Linked DNA regions of Homo sapiens: all the other regions are linked to region 3. Evidence: promoter capture Hi-C in 16 types of primary human blood cells and fetal thymus (Javierre and others, 2016). All regions are on one chromosome and are shown on one strand. Each heading gives the region's core, a stretch centred on a gene start or on the middle of the fragment in contact. The rest is flanking DNA. Distances are from core to core; before and after follow the strand shown. Region 1 overlaps LOC107984710 (a long non-coding RNA gene). Region 2 overlaps LOC105370640 (a long non-coding RNA gene). Region 3 holds the start of DICER1 (dicer 1, ribonuclease III).

Region 1 (3,896 bases), core at 1,173-3,672, 200 kb after region 3:
GGGCATGCAGAGTGGAATAGTAGACATTGGAGATTATGAAACATGGGAGGGTGGGGATGGGGGTGAGGGATAGAAAATTCCCTATTGGATACAATGTTCACTCTTCAGATGATGTGTATAGGAAAAGCCCAGACTTTACCACTATGCAATATATGCATGGAAGAAACCTGCACTTGTACCCCCCAAAAATATACAAATAAAAAATTAAAAAGGAGAGAATGAAACAAAAGCTTTTTCTTTGAGAAAATCATAAAATTATATGCTTTCTTTTTTTCCCAAGAGTTGTATTCCCACCAGTTCTGAATTGCATTCCAGTGCCTTCAAATGGTTTTTTAAAAATTTGCTATTCAGAGATTTTAATGGTTACAATCAGGAGGCTTGGTCAGATTCAAGCCACCCCACCATTTACTGTACCTGGAACCCTGGCTTCCATAGCTACTTGTCACACTGTATGCTTCCTTCTGTAGCCTTCTCTCCTACTTATTTGATGTTTCCCATTGTCTGTGAGCCAGGAGATCGAATAATCATACTTGTGAGAATTGTATAACAGCCAGAATCAGTGGCTCTGGCAGACTCTCTGGTGAATGAGGTCTGTGCGTTTCCATTCAAACACCTCTTTTGTTTACTTCCCAGGAGATGGTATGATGTAATGAAATGGAGATGGGCCACAGAGTCTGACTTGACCGAGGTTCAAATCCTAGGTTTGCCACTTAGGAGTATCATGACCTTGGGCAATGTACCTCACCTCTGTGGACTCAGTTTCCTTACCTGTGAAATGAGGTTGCATTGAATCTCCAGACTGCTGTAGGGCCTAAAGGACATAATATATTGAAAGTTCCTAACATCACCCCTGGCACCCCCTGGTGCTCAGCACAAATGACCTTTCCTTCCTTAACCCTTTCCCTCCTGTCCTGGAGAATATCTGTTGACTGGTAAGTTACCTCCAGATGAGTAAATCAGGGTGTGTCGAGGTATTAATATATATTTGAGCCAATTTGCTTTTTAAGTTTTCTTTGTGCGTGTGCTAACAAATTGTAAAGGCATCAAAGATTCTATTCACTACTTTCCAGTTCCTTGGCCACCCCCCTCTGCCACCGTTAGGCTGAATCAGCTCTGGTCCTGAGTCCCCCACCAGAATGACTATGTCTGGGGCCAATAAAGTCCATTGCCCATCCCAGGGGGCACTATTGGCCATCATTAACATTAAATTCTATAGTCCTGGCCGGAGCGAGAACCCATTCTCTCCCCAGTCACCAGGACAGGACCAGCAGGCTGGGAATGTCACTTTATTTGGATTTGGTTCATGGGATGGGGGTCTCAGAACAAATTGGAAGGCCTCACACCGGCAACTGGGCCCAACCAGCTGGGCTCCTGACCCGGGACCTCGTTCTGGCCTGTCTCCCCAAAGCTTATCCACCTAGGATGAGTGCCTTGAAAGTGTACCAAAAATAGAAGTGGCGACGTTTTCAGGAGTTGGTGAAGTCTGACCTTTTACCCTTAGTGAGTCTGTGTAAGGCGTGAGACAACATGGTCTGTCGTCCTTTACGTGCAGGTTTTGGGCAGATGTGCAGATGACGCATCTACCTGCCTTGGGTGTAGTGTGGCGGCCACCAGACCAAGCCTCGTCCAGCTGCCTTCTGCTGAACAGCTGTGGACCCATAAAAGGAAATGCCAGACCTCCCAGCTCTTGCCTCAGAGACAAGCCTCCCTCACATCTATCTCCTCCACCAGCCCTCCCCTGAAAACTGAATTTAAAATCAAGCAGGGCTAGGGAGTCACCGCTCCTGGGGTGTTTTCAGGAATTATCACAGGCCCTGTTCAAAGTGTATAATGTTCTTAAACTGACAGGATTAGGGGATTAAAATTGTATACATTCTAGAATCCAGGTATCAGAAACTCTCTTGAGAAAAAAATGCCTGGCTTGGTGGAGGGGAGTTAAAGTGCTGTAATATCTAGCAGGTGTCTTCAAAGGCCTGCACATGGCCCACGCATTGTCTAACTATGCACTTGTTCATGTGTTGCTTCATTCATTCATGCACATTTATTCATTAGATTGTTTATTTGTTCACACATCAAAATAATATTTCTTGAGCACCTATTATGTGCCAGACACTGAGCTGGGTACTGGGGTTGCTGGGGCAAATGTGATGGCCCAACTTTGCCTCTTCAATACCCACTCCCCATTCTTCTGGCATCAACATCCTGAATTTGTTTAGGGGACAGCCCATCCAATGGACAGAGCCTGAGTGGGGCCCACATCCAAGTGGGGCCTGCCCTTCTGTGGCCCAGTGCAGGCCAGTCAAGAGTATTCCCCCTGGAATTGGAATCTTGAGCAGCATAACATGACAGGGACAAAGGATTACTCTTCATGTATAGCCCTGGCACCCCCAGAGACTCTCCATGTGCCCCTGCCCTGGATCACTGCTGTTCTCTGAACCCAGTCTGGTTTTTATTCTAATTCTTTGAGCTCTCCCAAATCCTCCCAATCAATTTTGCTTTGCTTAAGTAAGCCAGTTTTATTTCCGTTACTAGCAACTCCAGAGCCCTAATATATTCTCTATCCCCCAAGAGCTCACAGTCTCGTAGGACAGACAAGTAAACCAATGATTTGGGCTCAGATACCCTTATAGCAATTACACTGAGCGTTCTGAGAGCCCAGAGGAAGGGCCTTGATTAATTTCTTAGCCTCAGTTTCTCTTTAAATGAAGAGCCCTGTAAACCACTCCAGGTATTCCAGTTATTCATTGCTTTATAATATACCATCCACAGCTGTATGGCTTAAAATATGGATGCATTATTGTCTCCTGTGGTTCTGGGATTTGACTGGACTCAGCCAGTTCTTGCGTAGGTTCTCTTATGCTGTTTGTAGTTGGATTCAGCTGGGGTTGGAATTATCTGAGGGCTTGACGTTGCAGGACGTCCAAGATGGCTCACACAGCATGATGACCTGCTGGTCGTCAACTGGGAGCATGGCTAAGGCTGTCCCTGGGAACATCCATATATGGCCTCTCTGTGTAAAGAATTTTACAACACAGAGTGCTCCAAGATCAACCCCAGAGACCCCAGTGGACACTGCAAGGCTTCTTATGACCTAGCCCTAGAAGTCCCAGAATACCACTAATGACCACTTTATATTTGTCAAGCAAGTCTGTAAGGCCAGCCCAGATTCCAGGGGAGGCAAATTAGACCCCACATCCTAATGAGAGAATGAGACAGTCCTACTACAGGTACAGCATGTGGGATGGGAGCTACTGTTGTGGCCATCTTTGGGAAACATGATTTCTCTCACCAGGTATTCCTTCTAGAACATTCCTTGGGCTACTCACATGCCCAAAATAGGTGGCAGATCTTTGGTGCTTGATCCTAAGTCTCTCCTATGTTAGATGTGACTAATTACTTTGGAAATACCAGTCCCCAGAGTCTTCTGGCATTGTCATGAAGCTTTGTCAACAGAATCAGACCAACCCTCAAAGCTTTAGATTCAAACTCTGTGTTTTCGTCTCAGTTCTAACGCTGAGTTGCTGTGTGAACTTGGTAAGTTGCTTCATCTCTCTGACCCTCAATTTCCTGCTCTGTAAAGGTGACTATTAAACATAGCAGTCCTGCTGAACTCCTGGGATTATGGTGAAAACAAAATGAAATTTTGCAAGTGAAGGAGATTTGTTAACTGTAAAGACCAGGGCACACATAGCAGATTATGGTGATGCCGGCTCCATTGAGGAAGGCACTTTCTATACATTACTCTCCCCAAATCCCTGTAAGGCAGGCAGGCAGCCTTGTAAGTGAGGAAATTAGCTCAAATTCCATTTCTTATTTAAGCCACTTGCTATAAAATTTGAGTCCAGATCTTCTGCAGGCCCCAATCCCTGAGTGGGCTTTTTTTCTTTTTCTCCTTT
Region 2 (4,254 bases), core at 1,693-4,192, 240 kb after region 3:
GGGAATGCTGTATAGCTGAAACAAGATAACAAGTGTTAATGGTTCCCAGGCGTATGGTGCCCAAAAGTCAAGAGAGAGATGTTAGAATGCAGGTTCCCAGGCATCTCTTCAGATTTTCTGATTAAGTAAAGGTGGGGCCTTCCTGCAAACTTCTAGGTGATTCTTTTATCTAGATATGTTAGTAAGAAACACTGATGTTTAAAAAGGGTTTAGTAACAAACCCAGCACACAGTAAGTCTTCAGTACATGTCATTGGTGGCGGTTGTAATCATTATTCTAATTATTACAACAATAGTGGTACATGACAAACTCTCTCCAAATCCAGTGGCTTAAAACAATAAGCATTTGTTTATCCCAGGAATACGCAGTTCAGTGAGGCAGGCTGGTCTCAGCTGTGATTCTTTTGGTTGTAACTGGGCTCACTTAACAGGTTCAATGCCAGCTGGCTGTCCAATGAAATGATGGGGCAAATAGGCCACGTGTCTCTGAAAATGGGCGTGAGGATCTCTGCCCCATGTGCCATGAGAACATGCTAATCCAGCATGTTCTCATGGAGGTGGCAGAGGTGCCAGTGCTTTCAGGCCTGTGCTTACTGTCACGTTTGCTCCCATCTCATTGGTCAAAACAAATTGCATAGCTGAGCCTAGAGCCAAGACATGGCGAGCATCCCACCTGGAGCAGTAGCCCCTGATTAAGCACATGCCACAGGGAGCTGGTAGGGGGAGTGTGAAGATTTGGGACTAATCATAAGTATTGTTGTAGAAAATATCAAAGTTCACTGTCTTTGTCTACCAAATTTGCTTCGATGAGCGTGCATTACACTTTCAATCAGAAACAAATTTAGCTATTATCACTTTGAAACAAAAATAGTGCTTAGAAAACAAGAGAGGATTATTATGAGGAGTAAACAAGGTTTAAACATGTCAATGCATGAGGAAGAACATTACAAGCTGCCCAGAAGCCTGGGGGATGATGTGCTAAGAATCAGGCCCCCAGCTAGATGTGAACAGCCCCCTCTCCATCAGGCCTGCAGTCTGCTTTGGATCTGGCTATGCTGCTGCGACATCACCCTGACGTTAGGATCAGGTGTTAACTCACCCCTTATCCCTCTGGAGCCCCAGTGCTCGCATGGTGAATGAGTTTCAGGCAGCAAAACCACAGCCCTCCTCACTTTGAGGGCTTCTCTTTGCTTTCCCCTTTATCCAACCCCCAGAAATTTACTTCTCTTGTGTCACAATAGACTGAGGGCTCCTCAGAGGGCAAGGCCACATCCCCAAAATATATCATAAGAGCACCCACAAAAATAAGAGTCAGTACTACTTTTTTGAGCATTTATTATGCTCCAGGCATGGTGCTAACTGCATTTTTATATATTAGCTAATTTAATGCTTCTGGTGACCCCATGAGTTTGTGTATGAGTTTCCTATTGCTGCTGTAACAAACTACCACATACCTGGTGTCTGAAAATAGCACAAATTTATTCTCTTACACTTACAGAGCTCAGAAGTCCTAAAATGGTACTAAAAATCAAGTCAGTAGGCCTATGTTCCTTCTGGACGATCTAGAGGAAAATCTGTTCCTTGCCTTATGCAGCCTCGAGAAACCGTGTGCATCCCTCAGCTTGTGGCTCCCTTCCAGCAATGAGGATAAAAAAATGGATGGGGATATGGATGCATGTATGGAAGGGTAGATGGAAAGATGGACAAATGGAAGGATGGATGGATGCATGGATGGATGGAAGGATGGATGGATAGTTGGATGAATGGATGGCTGGATGATGGATGGATGAATGGAAGGATGAATGGATGTATGGATGTGTGGATGTATGGATGGATGAGTGAATGGAGGGTTGAAGGTATGTATGTATGTATGGATGGATGGATGGATGGTTGGAGAGATGAACAGAGGATGGATGGATGGATGAATAGATGGTTGAATATATGGATGGATGATGGATGAATGGATGGAAAGATGGATGGATGGTTGGATAGATGGATGGGTGAATGGATGGCTGGCTTGATGTATGGATATATGTAAGGATGGATGGATGGATGGATGGATGGATGGATGGATGGATGGATGGATAGATGGATAATTGGATGGATGGATGGATGGATGGATGGATGGATGGATGGATGGATGAATGAATGAATAGACACTCAGAAAGTCTTTAGTCTCCTCTAGATTTCATCTCTGTGGCTGAGACAATGGCAAAGCATTTCTCTTTTCCATCCCCATCCCTGGAGCTGTCGTTTTTCACATCCATCAGCATCAAGATACTTCCCACTAAACTTCGTGGGTGAGAGCCTGTACTCTTTCCAAACCTCTCACTGAACCAGTCCACTCTTGTCATGAGAAAATAAGTATGTCATCTAATTACCAATGATGTCAGTCAAGGAACCTTAAACAAAGAGATTAGTTCTGCTTGTATTTGTTGGTACAATGGACATCATAACATATTTAACAGCATTGTAATGTGGAACAGATGGGAAAGACCCCAGCTTTCGGGGCCTCTCCATCTCTCCCACTTTCTACCAACAGCCAAAACCAAGCGACCTTTTAGAACACTTTATGGGCTGGATGCCTGCCAGAAATTGCTCACCCAGGGGCTGCCAGTACCGGCCCAGCCTGATAATGCCTGCTGGGTTCTTCATTGAAGACGATCAAGTTACAATCCTTGGGAATGCTGGAAATTCCACAGTGGATCTAGATACAATATTGGGGTGAAGCCCTCCCAAGCTTTACCCATTTATCATTGAGTTTCCACCGAGTGCTGATTATGTCATGGGATTTCCATCATGAAACCAAAATCTTGAGAAATCACCAAGGAGTAAATTTCAGTTTGGTTATGTGCTGGGCAACCTTGGATAAATTAGTCATCTCTCTGAGCCTGTGTCTTCAGCTGCAAAATAAGGGAGAAGAGCCAGCTGGACTAGTCATGAAGCCTGAGTGAGACAATGTCTGTAGAAGCCCAATAGGCACACAGCAGGTGCTCAAACTAATCTCGGCCCACGTGGGTGAGGGACTGAGTTTAGAACTCTAGATCTATTGAGAAACATTTCACATGCACCTAGTCTGTGGACCTGCATCCCACACAGAATTTTAGAATTTTTGAAATGAAAGGAATCTTGGGGACTATTTAAACCAAAGCTTGAAAAGCAATGGTCCGTGGGCCACACCCAGCCTGACAGCACATGCGTACACACGCATGTTAGCACAGGTATTTTTTAACAATATTCAAATTAGTTGCCACCTAAAAAATTTTTTTAACATTATAATGTGAAATCTTGAATGATTGAGAAACTGTCACTCTAATCCAAAGCCCACATCCCCACATGGCAATGATTGGACAAAGATCCCAACCTTCCCTCTTTCAGGATGTTTTTACACTTGGTCTGGGGATGTGGTTTGGATTTGTTTCCCTGCCCAAATCTCATGTCGAATTGTAATCCCCAATGTTGGAGGAGGGGCCTGGTGGGAGGTGACTGGATCATGGGGGCAAACTTCACCCTTGCTGTTCTTGTGATAGTGAGTTCTCATGAGAGCTGCTTGTTTAAAAGTGTGTAGCAGAGGCTCGCTGTCTTCCTCCTGCTTCAGCTACGTAAGTCGTGCCTGCTTCTTCCTCACCTTCTGCCATGATTGTAAGTTTCCTGAGGCCTCCCAATCCACGCTTCCTGTAGAGCTTGTAGAACCTGTGAGAGAATTAAACCTCTCTTCTTTATAAATTACCCAGTCTCAGGTAGTTCTTTATAGCAGTGCGAGAACAAACTAATACATCTGGTCTGCTCAGATGTTTCCTGTTTGGGTTCTGTAGGCATGTTAGTTCACAGACCCAGATTGAGAGCAATTCCTTCCCCTTTATAGATAATGAAACTGAGGCCAAAGTGAAGATGACAATAAGCCCCTCCCTACGACGGTCATGGGAGATATCACCAAGAGATCATGCAGTTCTTTCCTTGATCACAGCCTCAGAATCCCTCTTAACACAGTGCTCTGTGTTGGCAGCCATTCAGATAACCAATCAGGTACCTCAGGGATAAGAGATTTTGCTCAGGGTTCCCTAACTCTGCTCTATTAACCTTAAGGGCTTGCTCTCATCTGCTCTTGATAGTTTTGGGATTGCAAATGAGGAGACATAAACAGTGGGTTTGCTTCGTTGCTGTGTTGCAGGTTTGGAACAAGAGATCACTGGAGGGCAGGGCTGGACGGCAGCAAGGCCATTTTCAGGCTATGATCTTGGGGTCACCTTTCTAC
Region 3 (4,026 bases), core at 937-3,436:
AAATGAAACAAGCACCTCACATGTCAGATAGTGGTAGAGAATAAAACATCCCAACGCCATAAAAGTCACCCTCTCTAGAAGATAGCACTACAAGTACTGTACAACCCACTATATGACAAAATCACTGTCAAATAAGAATCATGAGCCACATCAAAAGACAATGTCTTCTAAAACCAAGACAATAAAGCTCAATAATAGCAAAACAACCTAGCTACCCAACTCACACATTGAGCCACGGGCAAAATACAGCAGAGCAGTCAGGGCTTACCCTTCAAACATGAGATGGAAGCATAAAAAGTAAAGCAGGCCCTTACTAAAAAGGATTGTAGGAAAATGTCTTTTCTCCCCAAATTAAAATGGACTAACTGTTCTCTTCTTAAAACAGCATTTTGGTGCCGTGAGTAAATCTATAAACCTATGTTACCATGATCAATGTTTATAGTGACCATGTTAAAAGCAATCTTTAGTTTTTTGTTTTTTTATCTATTGAGTTTTATGGAATATGCCCTAAAATGAAGTTTTGAAATAATTGTGTATGTATGTGCATGTACACAGCACATATTACATATAATACACACGTGCCACAGGTAGCTTTAAAGTAGACTTTGCAAAATAAACTGGCTATTCCAGAACCTAATTTCCAAAGATATCAATAATATTGAAAATTACTATTCTCTAGGACCTGGCTTATCCCGAACCCATCTTTTAATAAACTGAGTTTTTTGGTGAGGATGTATATTTTTATTTAGAAAACTTAACGTTTACACCAATACATATTCAATATAGCTAACCTGTTTTAACAGCACATTTTTAACAATATTTTCCGAGTTGCTTAAATCCTAACCTGAGTCCTTTTCCACTGTTTGAAAACAAGCACCACGAAGACACCTGACAATCAGGATTGTAAAGATTCAGAATATTCGAAGACAGAAGCATAGGCGTCCAAGTGATCCTCTTTCATCAGATGAATGTTTTTAAAACCTGAAAGTCCTAAGAACACTTACTTATCGTGTAGACCAGTAACGTGTCCCTTTAACCACAACTCTCTCCACAAAAGCACGGAGTTAACACTACACAAATAGGACCCTCCAACTCATCTCCACGTTTCCGCGGATCTTCAGGTTCCTAAGGACACACTCAGTGGTTTGCTGGCTCTGACCTCCAGGCAGAGCCATCAGGGCAACTCAGCTTTTCTGGACAATCTACAGAAATCTGATGTGCTAACTTAAAACATACACTGATTTCCCCAAAATCAAAAACCCTGAAGAAAGGGTCCTCCGCAGGGTCTAGGCATTTTGGCACAAAAACATCTGAGGGGAGAGGCAAAAGAATGGCCTCGGCCCCTGCCCGCCCCCCAGGGCCCCAATCTGGTCCCCTGACAGTAATCACACAGGACCCTCCCGGGAGGGACCGAGAGCCCAGCTTCGTCCCCTCCGGGCGCGGCACAGCGGCCCCATCAGAGGAGGGCCCCAGGGTGCTCCGGCAGGTCAGGCGCGCGTCTCCACCTCCGCTGCTCCCGCGCCACCTTAGCGCGCGTGACGGGACCTGTCAAGAGCCCCAGGCCTCGCCAGGCCGGGGAGTGGACAGGCGCCGGCATCCCCCACCACGCCACGGCGGCCCGGAAAGTCTCCCAGGGCTGCCTCGCGGGGAGGCGCCGGGGTCCGGGCCCAGGAGCAGAGCCGAGGCGGGCAGACGCCGGGTCCACAGGCCGCGCTGTGCGGGACGACGAGGCAGGCGAGGCCGCGCCCTTCGTCAGCGCCCGCCAGGCCCGGACGCGCGGCTCGGGGCCATGGCCGGCACGCGGGCCTCCGCGCGGAGGCGGGAGCGCGGCCAGGCGACCCGCTCCCCGCCCCGGACACAAAGCTGCTCCGCGGGAGCCCGCCTCACCTGCAGCACGGGGCGCCGCGGGCCTTCGAGAACCATCGGACCCCGCTCCGGCGCGCGCGTCACAGCCCAGGCCTCCCGGAGCCGCCCGGCGCCGCCGCCCCCGCCGCCATTTCCTCGCGCTCGCCGTCGCCTCGTCCCCGCTGTCAGGTTACTCCATTCACCTGGGCCTGCAGCAGCCTGCGCCGCGCCTCCGCCTCGACCCCTCCCGCCGGCGCCTGCGGAGACTGCGCAGCGCCCGGCTGGCCGGCAGCCAGCGCACGGCCCGCGGCAACGGCGCACAGCCGCTTGGAGAATCCCACTGGCTCCCGCACCGCCCCTCCGCGCCCCCACGCTCCGCTCGCCCCGTGGCGGCATGAGAGCGAGCCTGTGATTGGACAGGGCCTGGCGGTGAAAGGTTAATCCCGGCCCCCCAGCCACTCAGGAGCAGGGAGACAGCGGGCGCGCGCGCGGAGGCCGGAGAGGCGTTTGCGGCCCAGCGCCTGGACTGGACCTTGGCGTTGGGCCGCAGTTGCCCGGAGTTTTTGGGGCCCCCGGGAACCCGCGCGCCGAGGCCGGCTAAGTTTGGCAGACTCTCTGAGCTCTCGGAATTCGACTGCCTCCATTGTTGCTCCTTCTGGCACCCACAGACCGTAACGTGGCCGTAATTGTTTCCCGGAGAGCTTAGCTTCCCTCTGAGCACCTCCCTCCCCTTTTTAAAGTACCTTCCCACTCGCCTGCGTTTCCTCGCGTTAGTGGTGCAGGGGCCTCCGCATTTGGGGAAATAACAAACACCCACTTCCGCCCCCCACCCCAACCGGGATCCCCAGATAATGAGAAATAGATGGTGGCCCTCTGTTTGTAAGCTGTTCATTTGCATAGGTCGGAACCGCGCACCACAGCTTGAAGCTAGGAATTAAAATATCGGTGGGAATTAAATAAGTGGCTGGCTTAAAGAACATCTTCTTAATTTATCCCCAAATGTAGACATCTCTTCAGTGGACCCCCTGATAGGCCGGTTTGCTCCAGGTGAGGTGTGCTCACAGCAACTGCAACCGTGTTTCTTTCAGACCATGGGCGTGAGCAGAACCTACTATGCGCCCCTGCTGCCTGGGCTGTGCTGTTCAGTTTGGGGCCACCAGCCCCACATGGCTCCTGAGCACTTAAAGTATGGCTAGTCGGAATCGAGATATATGCATTCTTTACCAAATAATGTTCAAAAAATTGTTACATGTTGAAGTGATAAACTTTTTCCATATATTGGGATAAAAGTTTTATTTGTTTATTTTTTAGTGTGGGTTCTACAGAATTTTAAATGTCACCTGTGGCCTGCATTATATTGCCATTGGGCAGGCTGATCTAGGGCTTGCATGCCTGTGATCCTTAGGTGCACCCTGTGAGGTAGGTGCTTTAACTGTGTGCACCCTGTGAGGTAGGTGCTTTAACTGTGTGCACATTGTGAGGTAGGTGCTGAAACTGCTTCCTGTTTTTTTTTTTTTTTTCTTTTGAGACGGAGTCTCACTCTGTCTCCAGGCTGGAGTGCAGTGGTGCGACCTGGGCTTACTGCAATCTCCGCCTCCCAGGTTCAAGTGATTCTCCTGCCTCAGCCTCCCGAGTAGCTGGGATTACAGGGGCACGCCACCACACCCAGCTAATTTTTGTATTTTTAGAAGAGACGGGGTTTCACCATGTTGGCCATGATGGTCTCGATTTCTGACCTTGTCATCCGTCCGCCTTGGCCTCCCAAAGTGCTGGGATTACGGGCGTGAGCCACCGTACCCAGCCTGCTTCCTGTTTTAACAGACGAAGAAATGGAATAACTTCCAACAAGTAAGTAGCCAGTAAGTGAACAACTGAGATTTGAACCCACGTAGTCTGGCTTTGAGGCTGGTGTGCTCAGTCATTACTGTGCTAAAATTTTGATAATATATTTACTATGAATTGGCTTAAGGTTTCACTTGAAAGTAGCATATTTATGGGCAAAATTAGGAAGTAGGATGCTCCTGGCAGACCCATGTATTTAAAAAAGTAGTTTCTTATATGTCAAGCACGGTGAGCATGTCATACCTTTAAGACCCCAGTCATACATATAAGGTTTTCTTTGTAGCTAGGAATTAAAATATCGGTGGGCGTTAAATAAGTGTCTGGCTTAAAGAACATCGT

Evidence for each region. Contacts are between HindIII fragments. The CHiCAGO score rates a contact against its expected background, and 5 or more counts as called.
Region 1: a contact is called between a fragment that was not itself captured here and the fragment with the promoter of DICER1 in region 3, in 1 of 17 cell types (naive B cells). The highest score is 5.6, in naive B cells.
Region 2: a contact is called between a fragment that was not itself captured here and the fragment with the promoter of DICER1 in region 3, in 1 of 17 cell types (naive B cells). The highest score is 5.4, in naive B cells.

The regions. Positions count from the first base shown.
Region 1 is chr14:95,355,024-95,358,919 of GRCh38, forward strand. All of the region lies in intron 2 of LOC107984710 (a long non-coding RNA gene), which reads left to right. Among named protein-coding and RNA genes, the nearest start is that of LINC02292, 27 kb to the left of the region's middle. The HindIII fragment of the contact is 2,033 bases long and covers 1,407-3,439 here.
Region 2 is chr14:95,392,588-95,396,841 of GRCh38, forward strand. LOC105370640 (a long non-coding RNA gene) reads right to left here. Exons shown (of 3, transcript XR_944174.3): 3 at 3,576-3,692. LOC105370639 (a long non-coding RNA gene) reads right to left here and starts at 1,291. Exons shown (of 3, transcript XR_944173.3): 1 at 1,099-1,291; 2 at 1-15. The HindIII fragment of the contact is 411 bases long and covers 2,738-3,148 here.
Region 3 is chr14:95,155,343-95,159,368 of GRCh38, forward strand. It overlaps DICER1 (dicer 1, ribonuclease III), which reads right to left and starts at 2,187. Exons shown (of 27, transcript NM_177438.3): 1 at 1,888-2,187. DICER1-AS1 (DICER1 antisense RNA 1) reads left to right here and starts at 2,346. Exons shown (of 4, transcript NR_015415.1): 1 at 2,346-2,516; 2 at 2,851-2,892; 3 at 3,534-3,693. RefSeq lists silencers at 1,478-1,837, 1,898-2,357 and enhancers at 2,448-2,547, 2,588-2,657. The HindIII fragment of the contact is 7,422 bases long and covers 1-4,026 here.